Regions from separate parts of the Homo sapiens genome. Here all the other regions are linked to region 4. Evidence: promoter capture Hi-C in 16 types of primary human blood cells and fetal thymus (Javierre and others, 2016). All regions are on one chromosome and are shown on one strand. The core of a region is centred on a gene start or on the middle of the fragment in contact, and the rest is flanking DNA. Distances in the headings are between cores, read along the strand shown.

Region 1 (3,320 bases), core at 140-2,639, 730 kb after region 4:
CTGGGTATAGAATCATATTACCTGCAAAAGGAGGTAGTTTGACTTCCTTTCTTTCTATTTGGACGTCTTTTATTTTTTTTTCTCTTGCCTGACTGCTCTGGCTAGAACTTCCAGTGCTATGTTGAACCAGGAGTAGTGAGAGTAGGCAACTTTGTCTTGTTCTGGTTCTCAAGAGGTATGATTTCAGCTTTTGCCTATTTGTGATATGATGTTGGCTGTGGTTTTGTCATAGATGTCTCATTTTGAGGTATGTTCCTTTGATACCTAGTTTGTTGAGGGTTTTTAACATGAAAGAATGTTGAATTTATTGAAACCTTTTCTGCATCTATTTAGATAATCACGTGATTTTTGTTTTTAGTTCTGTTTATGTGATAAATCACATTTACCAATTTGCGTATGTTGAACCAACTTTGCATTCCAGGGGTAAAGCTTACTTGATCATGGTGGCTTAGCTTTTGCTGTGCTGCTGGATTTAGTTTGCTAGTATTTTTTTTTGAGGACTTTTGCATCAATATTTATCAGGCATATTGTCCTGAATTTGTTTTTCCTTTGTGTTTCTGTCAGGTTTTGGTATCAGAATAATGCTGACCTCATAGAATGATTCAGGGCAGAGTCTCCGCTCCTCAATATTTTGGAATAATTTTGGTAGGATTGGTATCAGCTCCTCCTTATCTATCAGGTAGAATTCAGATGTGAATCTGTCTGATCCATGGCTTTTGTTGGTTTGTAGGTATTTTATTATGGATTCAATTTCAGAACTTGTTATTGATCTGTTTAGGTATTCAATGTCTTCCTGGTTCAATCTTGGCAGGTTGTATGTTTTCAGGAATTTATCTGTTTCTTCTAGATTTTCTAGTTTTTCAGCATAGAAATTGTTCATAATGGTCTTTGAGAGTTTTTGTATTTCTGTGGGTTCCATGGTAATGTCCCCTTTGTCATTTCTAATTGTATTTATTTGGATCTTCTCCTGTTTTTTTTTTTTTTTTTGTATATTAATCTGGCTAGTGGTCTATATATCTTATTCTTTCAAAAAACCAATTTTTAGTTTTCTTAATTATTTTTGTGAATTTTCACATCTCAATTTTATTTGGTTCAACTTAGATTTTGATTATTATTTTTCTTCTGCTAGTTTGGGGGTTGGTTTCCTTTTGTTTTTTCTAGTTCCTGTAAATGTGATGTTAGGTATAAATTTAAGATATTTCTGACTTTTTGATGTAGGCCTTTAGTGCTATAAACTTTTCTCTTAACACTGCTTTAGCTGTGTCCCAGAGACTCTGATATATTGTATTTTTGTTTTCATTAGTTTCAAAGATTTCTTGATTTCTGCATTAATTTAATTTATTACCCAAAAGTCATTCAGGAGTAAGTTGTTTAATTTCCAAATACTTCTATGATTTTCAGAGATCTTCTTGGTATTGATTTGTATTTTTGTTGCACTGTGATCTGAGAGTGTGGTTGATATAATTTCTGTTTTTTGAATTTCCTGAGCATTGCTTTATGGCCAAGCATGTGGCCAAGCATGTGGCACAGAGTATGTGCCATGTGCAGATGAGAAGAATGTATATTCTGTTGTTGAGTGGAATGTTCCTTATATGTCTGTTAGGTCAATTTAGTCAAGTGTGAAATTTTGTTCCTGAATATCTTTGTTAGTTTTCTCCCTCAATGATTTATCTAACAATGTTAGTAGGGTGTTGTATTCTCCCACTATTATTGTGAGGTTAGCTAGTTCTCTTCATAGGTCTCTAAGAACTTGTTTTATGAATCTGGTTGTGCCAGTGCTGAATGCACACATCTTTAGGATAGTTAAGTCTTGTTTGTAGAATTGAACTTTTTATCATTATGTGATGCCCTTCTTCATCCTCTTTGATAGCTTTTGGTTTAAGGTCTGTTTTTTTTTTCCTGAAATAAAAGAGCAACCCCTGCTCTATTTTGTTTGTTTTCCATTTGCTTTATAGATATTCCTCCATCCATTTAATTTAAGCCTGTGTCTTTACATGTAAGGTGGGTCTCTTGAAGACAGCATGTAATTGAGTCTTGCTTCTTTATCCAACTTACCATTCTGTGCCTTTTAAGTGGAGTGGTTAGCCTGCTTATGTTCAAGGTTAATATTGATATGTAAGGATTTGATCCTGTCATAGTGTTATTAGCTGGTTGTTATGTAGACTTGATTGTATAGTTGCATATTGTGTCAGTGGAATATTTACTTAAGTGTGTTGTTTTGTGGCAGGTAGCAGCCTTTTGTTTCCATGTTCAGCACTCCCTGAAGGACCTCTTATAAGGCAGGCCTAATGGTAACAAATTCGCTTAGTGTTTGTTTGTCTGAAAAGGATTATGTTTCTTTTTCACTTACAAAGCTTGGTTCGGCTGGATATGAAATCATGGTTAGAATTTCTTTTGTTTAAGAATGCTGAATGTAGGCCTTTAATCTTTTCTGGCTTGAAAAATTTCTGCTGAAAGGTCCACTGTTAGTGTGATAAGGGTTCCCTTTGTACATGATCTGCCTCTTCTCTTTTGCTGCCTTTCATATGTTTTATTTACCTTGATCTTGGAGAATTGGATAACTATGTGTCTTAGGGATTGTCATCTTGTGTAATATCTTGCTGGGGTACTCTGAATTTCCTGAATTTACATGTCAACCTCTCTAGCAAGGTCAGGTAAATTTTCAGGGACAATATCTTCAAATATGTTCTCCAAGTTGCTTGGTCTCTCTCCCTCTCTTTCTGTGATGCAAATCAGTTGTAGGTTTGGTCTCTTTACATAAACTCATATTTCTTGAAGTTTCGTTCATATTTTATTATTTTTTCCTTTATTTTTATCTGACTGAGTTGATTTGAAGAACTGATCTTCAAGCTCTGAGATTTCTTTCCTCAGCTTTCCTCAGCTTCTGCTGTTAGTACTTCCAATTATATTATGAAATTTTTGTAGTGAGTTTTCAGCTCTAGTAGGTTAGTTTGGTTCTTTCTTAAAATGGCTATTTTATCTTTAAGCTTTTGTATTATTTTATTGGATTTCTTAGATTCCTTTGATTGGGTTTCTGCTTTCTCCTATATTTCAAGAATCTTCATTGCCATCTAGACTTTGCTGGGTAGGTAGCATGGTAGTTTGGAGGTAAGACACTCTGGTTTCTACAGTGCCAGAGTTCTTGCACTGGTTCTTTCCCATCTGTGTGGGCTAATATTTTGCTAGTCTTTGCAGTTGCTGTTCTTTGGATGGGGCTCTTTTATTTTATATTCTTTGATGTCCTTGAGTGTCTAGCTGTGCTATAAGTTGGGTTTAGTTGATCGGCTTTGTTTCTGGATAATTTCATGGGTCCAAGGATC
Region 2 (3,315 bases), core at 250-2,749, 710 kb after region 4:
TACACAAAAAGACCATCCCCAAGACACATAATCATAAGCTTTTCCAAGGTCGAAATGAATTTAAAAATGTTAAAGACAGCTAGAGAGAAGGGGCAGGTCACTGGGAAGGTCACCTACAAAAGGAACCCTATCAGACTACAGCAGAACTTTCAACAGGAGCCTGACAAGCCAGAAGAGCTTGGGACCTATATTCAGCATTCTTAAAGAAAATAATTTCCAAGCAAGAATTTCACATACAGCCAAACAAAGCATCAAAAATGAAAAAGAAATGAGATCCTTTTCAGACAAGCAAATGCTGAGGGAATTTGTTACCACCAGACCTGCCTTATAAGAGATACTGAAAGGAACACTAAGTATGAAAAGGAAAGAACATTACCAGACACTACAGAAACACAATTAAGTACACAGAATAGTGACACTATGAAGCAACCACAGAAACAAGTCTGCATAATAATCAGCTAACAACACAATGACAGGATCAAATCTGCAGATGTCAATATTAACCTTTAATGTAAACAGGCTACACACTCCACTTAAAAGTCACAGAGTGGCAGGCTGGATAAAGAAGCAAGACCCAATGGTATACTGTCCTCAAGAGACCTGTCTCACATGCAATGACACCCATTGGCTCAAAATAAAAGGACAAAGAAAAATCTACCAAACAAATAGAAAGCAGAAAAAAAAAACAGAGGGTGCCATCATAATTTCAGAAAAAACAGACTTTAAACCAACAAAGAGTTAAAAAGACAAAGAAGGGCATTTCATAATGGTAAAGGCTTTCATTCAACAAGAAGACCTAACTACCTTGAATATATACACACACAACACAGGAGCACCTAGACTCATAAAACAAGTTCTCAGAGACCCACAAAGAGACTTAGAGTCACATACAATAATAGTGGGAGACTTCAATACCACACTGGCAGTATTAGATCGATCATTCAGGCAAACAAAAAAAAATAGCAAAGATATTCAGGAACTGCACTCAATACTTGACAAGATGGACCTAATGGACATTTATGGAACTCTCAACCTAAAACAATGGAACACACATTCTTCTTACTGCCACATAGCACACACTCTGAAGTCGACCACACGATCAGATATAAAACAATCCTCAGCAAATTCAAGAAAACAGAATCATACCAACCACCTTCTCAGAACACAGTGCATAAAAGTATAAATCTATAGTAAGAAAATGGCTCCAACCATACAATTACATGGAAATTAAACAGCCTTCTCCTGAATGACTTTTGGGTGAATAATAAAGGCAGAAATAAAGAAATTCTTTGAAACTAATGAGAACAAAGATAAAATACATCAGAATCTCTGGGACATTGCTAAGTCAGTCTTAAGAGAGAGGTTTGTAGCACTAAGCGCTCACATCAAAAAATTTAAAAGATCTCAAATTAACAACCCAACATCACAACTAGAAGAACTAGAAAAGCAAGAACAATCAATCCCCAAGCCAGCAGGAGAAAAGAAATAACCAATATCAGAGCTAAACTAAAAGAAATTGAGATGTGAAAAAAACAGACAAAGATCAACGAATCCAGGAGTTCATCTGTTGAAAAAATTAATAAGAAAGATTGCTAGATAGACTAAAAAAAGAGACAAGATCTAAATAAACACAATTAGAAATGACCAAGGGAAATTACCACTGACCCCACAGAAATACAACAATCCTTCAGAGACTACTATAATCACCTCTATGCACACAAGCTATAAAACCTAGAAGAAATGGATAAATTCCTAGACACATACAACCTCTGAAGACTAACCCAGGAGGAAACTGAATAACTGAATAGACCAATAACAAGTTCTGAAATTGAATCAGTAAGAAAAAGTCTACCAACTAAAAGTAGCCCATGACCAGATGGATTCACAGCCAAATGCTATCAGATGCATAAAGATGAGCTGGTACCATTCCTACTAAAACTATTCAAAAAACTGGGGAGGAGGGACTCCTCTCCAATTCATTCTATGAGGCCAGCATCATCCTGATAACAAAAGGCAGAGACACAACAAAAAAAGAAAACTTCAGGTGGTTATTCTTGATGAACATACATGCAAAAATCCTCAAAAAAATACAAGTAAACAAAATCTAGCAGTACTTCAAAAAGCTAGTCCAACACAATCAAGTAGGCTTTATCTCTGGAATACAAAGTTACATATACAAAACAATAAATGTGGTTCATCACATAAACAGAACCAAAAAGCTACATAATCATCTCAATCGATGCAGAAACAGCTTTCAATAAAATGCAACATCCCTTCATGTTAAAAACCCTAAATACTCTAGACATTGAATGAACATACTTCAAAATAATAAGAACCATTTCCAACAAACCCACAGCCAACATCATACTTTATGGACAAAAGCTAGAAGCACTCCCCTTGAAAACTGGAACAAGACAAGGATGGCCTCCCTCACCATTCCTATTCAATAGAGTACTAGAAATCCCGGCCAGAGGAATCAGGCAAGATAAAGAAATAAAAGGCATCCAAGTAGGAAAAGAGAAAGTCAAACTATCACTTTTTGCAGATGACAAAATCCTGTATTTAGAAAAACCCATAGTCTCTGCAGAAAAGCTCTTTGATCTCATAAACAACTTCAGCAAAGTTTCAGGATACAAAATCAATATACAAAAATCAGTACACATTCCTATAAACCAACAACATCCAAGCTGAGAGTCAAAACAGGAATGCAATTCCGTTCACAATTGCCACAAAAATTGACAAAAGGATTTATTGTATTCATCAAGGTTGGAAATCACCATACTACATTTTTTTCTAGAGCAGGCTATTTGTGGGATGAGAGGGTTTTCTTAGAATGTAGTCTGTTTTGTATATTGTGTCTTATGTGACAGGCACTGTGTACATCACTTTGGATCCATTTTTCTCATAATCTTCAAATCAAAATAATGAGGCAATCATTTCATTTTTTACATAAGGAAACTGAAGCTTGGAGAGGTTAGGCAATCACAGAGAGGCTAACCAAGGAGGTAGTTATTAACAATAAGAATTACAAAACACTGCTCAAAGAAATGAAGGAACACAAACAAATAGGAAAAGTTCCATGCTCATGGATAGGAAAAATCAATATTATTAAAAATGGCCAGATTTCCCAAAGCAATGTACAGATTCAATGCTATTCCTATCAAACTACCAATGACATTCTTCACAGAATTAGAAAACACGATTTTAAAATTTATATAAAACCAAAAATGAACTTGAATAGTCAAAGCAATCCTAAGCAAAAAGAACAAAGCTGGAGGTATCACTTGACCCAACTTCAAACTATACTGCAAGGTT
Region 3 (3,046 bases), core at 120-2,619, 690 kb after region 4:
TGAAGCTGGTCCTGACCAAACGTTTGAGGTTCCAAAGGACATCATCAGAAGAGCAAAGAAAATTCCGAAGATCAATATTCTTCACAAACAAACTTCAGGATATATTGTATATGGATTATTTATGCTACATACGGTAAGGCATCAAAGCTATTTTGTGGCATTTTCTACAATAACACTTGAAATTAAAAGCCCTGATGTGCTAAATGGAAGTTTGCATATTACTTAACATTAAAACTCAGGACTCTCTCAAAACTACTGACAAGTAGATAAAGTCTTCTTCGAGGTTAAGACCAGGATTAGGAGAACTATTAATGTTCTCATTCTTTCCAAAATATCACCCTGAAGTTCTTTAGTAAAACATTCACTGAGAAACCTTGAGACTTCATCAGCTGTGACTATCTATTATGAGTCATAACGATCAAAGATAGTGAGGGATCTAGATCCATACAAACATAATACTAAACTTATTTCTTTGATTATAATCTCAATTGTAGCAAAAATCACATTGTTTTCATTTTGAATACAGTATTGTTCTTTGAGGCTTGAGTTCCAGTTTTGACAATCAGGGCAAGAAATGAATTGACTGTTTATACCTGGAAATCAATTGCAGTAAACAGGTAGGACAATGTTCTGACCAAATGAAATGCATTCATCAAAAAGTATTGAAGGGCTGAGAAATATAAATTTGGGTGATACTTGGAGAATCAGGTAATCTGTACTCGTATATTAGATATGTCGCAAAAAAAGAGCAGAAAAAATTTTCTGATATGTTACTGTCAAAATTCACGAAACTAGTTAGCTTGAGACATTCCAACTCAGAAAACCATCTATACCTGGCTATTGAGTCCAGTAATTTCTTAGATGACTGACAGCTCATGATCTGTTATATTTATTTTCTAGAATGACCTCTTATTTTACCAGCATTGCTTTCTGTACACACTCTTAAAGAAATTCTTAGAAATACACATCCAGAACGATGAGTAATAGCCTTGATGAGCAAGAAATTGGAATGTTTGAGCTTAAGGACCTGAGTTCAGGATGGGAGCAGATGTTGAAAGAGATTCAGTAAATGGAGAAAGTCAAAAAAGTAATTAGATAGTTACTAGAAGCTTGTTTTTTATTACAGATTCCTCATAACATAGTGAATGATGAGTTGTGACAGATGCCCATTCTTTTTGCATAGGGGCAGAGGCCAAATAAGCCTACCAAGGACTTCAGTTTCCTTTGTATCAAGGTGCTTTGGGAAGCATAGCAGTCTTGGAGGTGAAAGAAGTTGAAAATGGGAAGATAACTCATTGCTCTAGAACTGTAATAGAAATACTTAGAACATTAAGGACTTAAACAAAAAGGATATTGAGGGAGAGCTCTGTGAGATGGTCTAGACTAAGGCATATGTATTGTATGTCGATACAGTACTAGGAGTTGCTGTCTTGCATCTTGTTTTTAATCTGTCACAAGAGACTTTCCTATATGCACGGTAGTTACTATGTTCTCACAAACATGATATTAATTTTTTGTTGCAGAAAATTGTAAATAGGAAGACGACAATCTATGAAATTCAGGATAAAACAGGAAGTATGGCTGTAGTAGGAAAAGGAGAATGCCACAATATCCCCTGTGAAAAAGGAGATAAGCTTCGACTCTTCTGCTTTCGACTGAGAAAGAGGGAAAATATGTCAAAACTGATGTCAGAAATGCATAGTTTCATCCAGGTGAGAAATAAAGAAACAAATATTAGTTTTCCAAAGATGAAAATCATTTGCTTTAAGTTTTAGGAAGCCATACTTCTGTTGTTTTACACTTAAAATTCTGCAGAGTTCATGAGAAACCAAATAATGCCCTTGCGCTTACATTTAAATAGAGAAAATTATTAAAATATATTAAGAGATGGACAATTATCTTCTTCAAAAAGACATGAAACTTGTGCTAAATATTAAAATATTTGAAGAAACTAGGAGGCCACGGGCCTAATTGCAGTTAGTTATCAAAACCAAGTTCTTTGCAGTAAGATAGGCTTGGTATATATCTTGCTCATTGGTTGCATGATATTGGAGAAATAGCTTACATGTTCCTCACACAATTGGTTTGAAAATTAAATGAGATCATGGATATACATTTTGTAGCCCATTGCCTTCCTTGTACCTTGTGACAAACCAGTATGCACTAGATACTACTGCTCTTAACAAGGTAAAGACAGACATTGGAAAGACTTCAGGCAGAGAAAATGTTGCATACAAACATTAAAAGTGAGAAAAAGCATAGTGAGTTCTGTACAACTTTGGCATATGTGGAAAGGTATGAGAAATTCATGCAAGACAGGTAACAAGCAGCCCTTTTCTCATCTGTCTTATGCCATAAAGACAAAAATGGATTTCATTTTAAAAAATAAGTGAATAAAGATTTTATTTTACTAAGAATGTTAGATCATTTTACATTTTAGCAAAAAAATATATTGGCAGTTGCCTGGAGGAATACATTAGATAGAGGCAATCTTTGAAGGTAATGACATCTATTAGAATTTAATAAAGGATGATATTCTCACATATTTAAAGATGTTTTGCTTTCCCTAATATTAAAAAACATTAAACAAAAAAATGAATACTTTCAGATACAGAAAAATACAAACCAGAGAAGCCATGACTCCAGGAGCATGGCACTACCCCAGGAACAGAGTCAGCATCCAAAACCTTCAGAGGCCAGCACAACCCTACCTGAAAGCCATCTCAAGACTCCTCAGATGCCACCAACAACCCCATCCAGCAGTTCCTTCACCAAGGTACAATATCCTGGGTCCCATGACTCTTATCTCCCAAATATAAATTACAAGGATCATTAGATTGTTGAAAGAGTTTCTCTTCTAATCCCTAACTGTGTACAATCTCTAGATAAAATTAAATCACCCATGTATTTATTGAATGCATACAGTGAGATACTACCACATGATAGTCTTTGCTATCTAAAAGATATTTATTTGTGCAACGATTGCTGACCACAAGAGGGCTAGTATCTTGTCTTGCTCCACCTATGGGAGGGGTAATGGCCAGAG
Region 4 (3,292 bases), core at 351-2,850:
GGAGGCAGAGGTTGCAGTGAGCTGAGATCATGCCACTGAACTCCAGCCTGGGTGACAGAGTGAGACTCTGTCTCAAAACAAAACAAAACAAAACAAAACAAAAAACAAATAAAAAAATTATTTGCAGGCCATGCCTGGTGGCTCATGCCAACAATCCCAGCACTTTGGGAGGCTGACACAGGAGGATTGCTTGAGGCCGGGAGTTGGAGGTTACAGTGAGCTATGATTATTCCACTGCACTCCAGCCTGAGTAACAGAGTGAAACCCTGTCTCAAGAAAAAAAATTTTTTCCCCCTAAATTAGCTTCAGATACTTTTTTTTTGAAAACCAAAAAATAGTAAATAGCCCAGACACATTTATATGGATGATATCTACAAAGCACAAACATATATTTAGAAGCCCTTCAACAGTTACAAGCAGCGTAAAAGAGGAATGTAAATGTGTCCGGCAAAGACTCATTTATAACAAAACAACCCTGAAACATCCAAATAGGACTAATAAAAAGGGATCCTGGGATAAAGACTTTGGAATACTCCATTAACTTCACTGCTCACAAGTTCTGACTAGTTTCTTATAAGTAATAGGACATTTATAGCAGGATCTTTTATGTAAATCTCATGCCAGTAACTTGTACTTTTATCCTAAATAAAACTGTATGAGATTCTCATCTCACTACATAGGGTTACAAGTAACTTTTATGATATCTTTAAAAAGTTTCATGTTGAATATCACCTCCATAATTAAAAAATGGATGCATAGACTGAATTCATTCATTCATTTGACAAATATTCACTAAGCACCTACCACTTGTGAGATACTCTGTTAGGTGGGGATACAGTATGATAACTGTATGGAACTAACACTCCAAGTCAAACATTGAAGTCAAAATTCTGGGCTGGCGTACATTAGTTAGGAGCCCCCATTTTAGAAAATATTATTTCAAGCAGGCCTTGTTTTTATCCAGAGAGTGTATACAGTATAATAAAACTCAGTACACCAAGATTTATATTTCATGGCGTGTTTTTCTCCCTAAGTAGAGAAAAAGCTCCTTCAGTAAAGTGATTGTGTTGTCAACCACTGCATATTCTTAAGTGTACCAAGATGCTTGACTCCAGGCAGGTGCTAAGAGAGACTGTTGGGTGAGTGAATGTATATCAATGAAAATCAAACAGAGGAAATTTTCTTTATATGTTTTAGTGTTCCTGTGGTTTTTTTTTTTTTTTTTTTTTTTTTTTTTTTTTTTTTTTTTGTGATGGTTACTGGCTCTTCTCTAAGAATAATGGAGAAAAGGTGTTAGTTTGTACTGTCGCACAGGGCAGTCGTAGGAGACTCTGAAAAAGCAAATAAATCAATGTTAAATCAGAAATGTGAATGTAGTAAGGGGCTGAAGAGACAGGGGAAGAGAATACATGGGAAAATATTGAAAAGGACAGAGTGATCAAAAAGAGCAGGGACATGGGAGCATTGGGCAGCACACTGGGAGCCATTTCACTTTATGCTCTTATTGTATGATTGAGAAAAAAATGTCCTTAGTGGTTAAGTGGCTTTTCAATGCCACATCAGACTTGTTCCATAGCAGTTGAATTAGGGGAAGGTGAATAAGTTGGAGGTTGGTGACAAGGAGAGAAGCTGGAACAGAGAGGAGAGTCAGAACCAGAGGGAAATGAGAGACTGAGTAGGCATCTCAGGGTTTTTGAAGGAGTGGATTTTCTTTGTTGCAGTCAGGGGAGGTTTGTCTGTTGGCTGCAGAAAGAAGTCAGAATAGAGATATCGTGGGGTAGGTTTGTTTGGAACAGAAATCAAAGACCAATTTTTCTGAGAGAAGGAAATAACATCTGCAAATGATATGCTGTTTTTGCTACTTCCATTGTTAGCTGTTCTCCCAGGTGATGGCAATGCAGACGGTAAGAACTCTGACAACTGCCCAGTTGGGTGGTGGGTGAAGGTCTCTCTCTCTCTCTCTGTGTGTGTGTGTGTGTGTGTGTGTGTGTGTGTGTGTGTGTGTGTGTGGTTTCCCTAGCATATACCTGGAAAGTGAGAGTGCCAGGCTGGTTCCATTCTGACTATCCATGACTCCAGGTCCCTGAGCTCTTATGAAGGTGGTTGATAAGGCATGGGACTGTGTGGCAAGTGAATGTCTGCTAAGATCATGATGGATCCCCTTTTCTCCAGATTCTGAGTTCCCGCACTCTGGCACCTTTCTCTCTCCATCCTCTTTCTCAATGTCTTTCTCCCCATTCTATCTGTTCTTTTGTCGCAGGGCTCAAGGAGCCTCTCTCCTTCCATGTCACCTGGATCGCATCCTTTTACAACCATTCCTGGAAACAAAATCTGGTCTCAGGTTGGCTGAGTGATTTGCAGACTCATACCTGGGACAGCAATTCCAGCACCATCGTTTTCCTGTGCCCCTGGTCCAGGGGAAACTTCAGCAATGAGGAGTGGAAGGAACTGGAAACATTATTCCGTATACGCACCATTCGGTCATTTGAGGGAATTCGTAGATACGCCCATGAATTGCAGTTTGAATGTGAGTTCAGTTTTCTCCATGGAGAGTGGTGAGGTGGGAGAGAGGGGTTGTCTCAATGTTTCTTATTCCTTTAGGAAACAGCCTGACTCTCTTCTGTATCTTATTCTATTCTTTCCACCATAAAACTGCAATTGCATACTTTTGGGCAAGGGCTATCATCCAGACCTTAATTCTCCAAACACTTCTGCTACTTATGAACTCCTCTCTCATTGATTGCAGGGTTGTGCATTATTATCTTTTCTTACAGGTATCCCAGGACCACCCTTCTGCCTGCCCTACAACCAGATACCTTCAGCTTTCTCACTTTCTCATTCATTCTCTTCAGCAGTCTCTCTATATATACTCAATTGTAACCCATTGCATTTAATTCAACCTAAGTTGTTATAATCCCAGTTCTCTTACACCAGGTCCTTGCTCACCCACAGCATTCACATCACCTTCTTTGACCAGTTTGCCCTCTTCCTCATGTTATTAATCTTTTCCTCCACCTACAGCTCCCACCAATTCCTCTTTCTCTGAATCCCTGACCAAACCAAATTTTATTCCATTATGTCAAACCCTGCACACTTCCCCCTTCTGCTTCTATAATCTTTGCTTCTACTCATTTCATTTTATATTTTTTTCTCCCTCTTTCCTCTATTTCATAACCCCAGATCCTTTTGAGATACAGGTGACAGGAGGCTGTGAGCTGCACTCTGGAAAGGTCTCAGGAAGCTTCTTGCAGTTAGCTTATCAAGGATCAGACTTTGTGAGCTTCCAGAACAA

The links. The method cuts DNA at HindIII sites, captures the fragments that hold promoters and counts their contacts. A CHiCAGO score of 5 or more calls a contact.
Region 1: a fragment that was not itself captured here is called in contact with the fragment with the promoter of CD1A in region 4 in 3 of 17 cell types (endothelial precursors, total CD4 T cells and naive B cells); the score reaches 5.7 in endothelial precursors.
Region 2: a contact is called between a fragment that was not itself captured here and the fragment with the promoter of CD1A in region 4, in 1 of 17 cell types (endothelial precursors). The highest score is 7.0, in endothelial precursors.
Region 3: a fragment that was not itself captured here is called in contact with the fragment with the promoter of CD1A in region 4 in 1 of 17 cell types (endothelial precursors); the score reaches 6.8 in endothelial precursors.

The regions. Positions count from the first base shown.
Region 1 is chr1:158,983,059-158,986,378 of GRCh38, forward strand. It overlaps a transcript of PYHIN1 not described here. Among named protein-coding and RNA genes, the nearest start is that of PYDC5, 18 kb to the right of the region's middle. The HindIII fragment of the contact is 1,925 bases long and covers 428-2,352 here.
Region 2 is chr1:158,964,391-158,967,705 of GRCh38, forward strand. All of the region lies in intron 7 of PYHIN1 (pyrin and HIN domain family member 1), which reads left to right. Among named protein-coding and RNA genes, the nearest start is that of PYHIN1, 34 kb to the left of the region's middle. The HindIII fragment of the contact is 2,926 bases long and covers 37-2,962 here.
Region 3 is chr1:158,942,267-158,945,312 of GRCh38, forward strand. It overlaps PYHIN1 (pyrin and HIN domain family member 1), which reads left to right. Exons shown (of 9, transcript NM_152501.5): 5 at 1-133; 6 at 1,524-1,712; 7 at 2,609-2,776. Among named protein-coding and RNA genes, the nearest start is that of PYHIN1, 12 kb to the left of the region's middle. The HindIII fragment of the contact is 525 bases long and covers 1,108-1,632 here.
Region 4 is chr1:158,252,824-158,256,115 of GRCh38, forward strand. CD1A (CD1a molecule) reads left to right here and starts at 1,601. Exons shown (of 6, transcript NM_001763.3): 1 at 1,601-1,904; 2 at 2,261-2,527; 3 at 3,181-3,292. The coding sequence starts at 1,847. The HindIII fragment of the contact is 5,152 bases long and covers 1-3,239 here.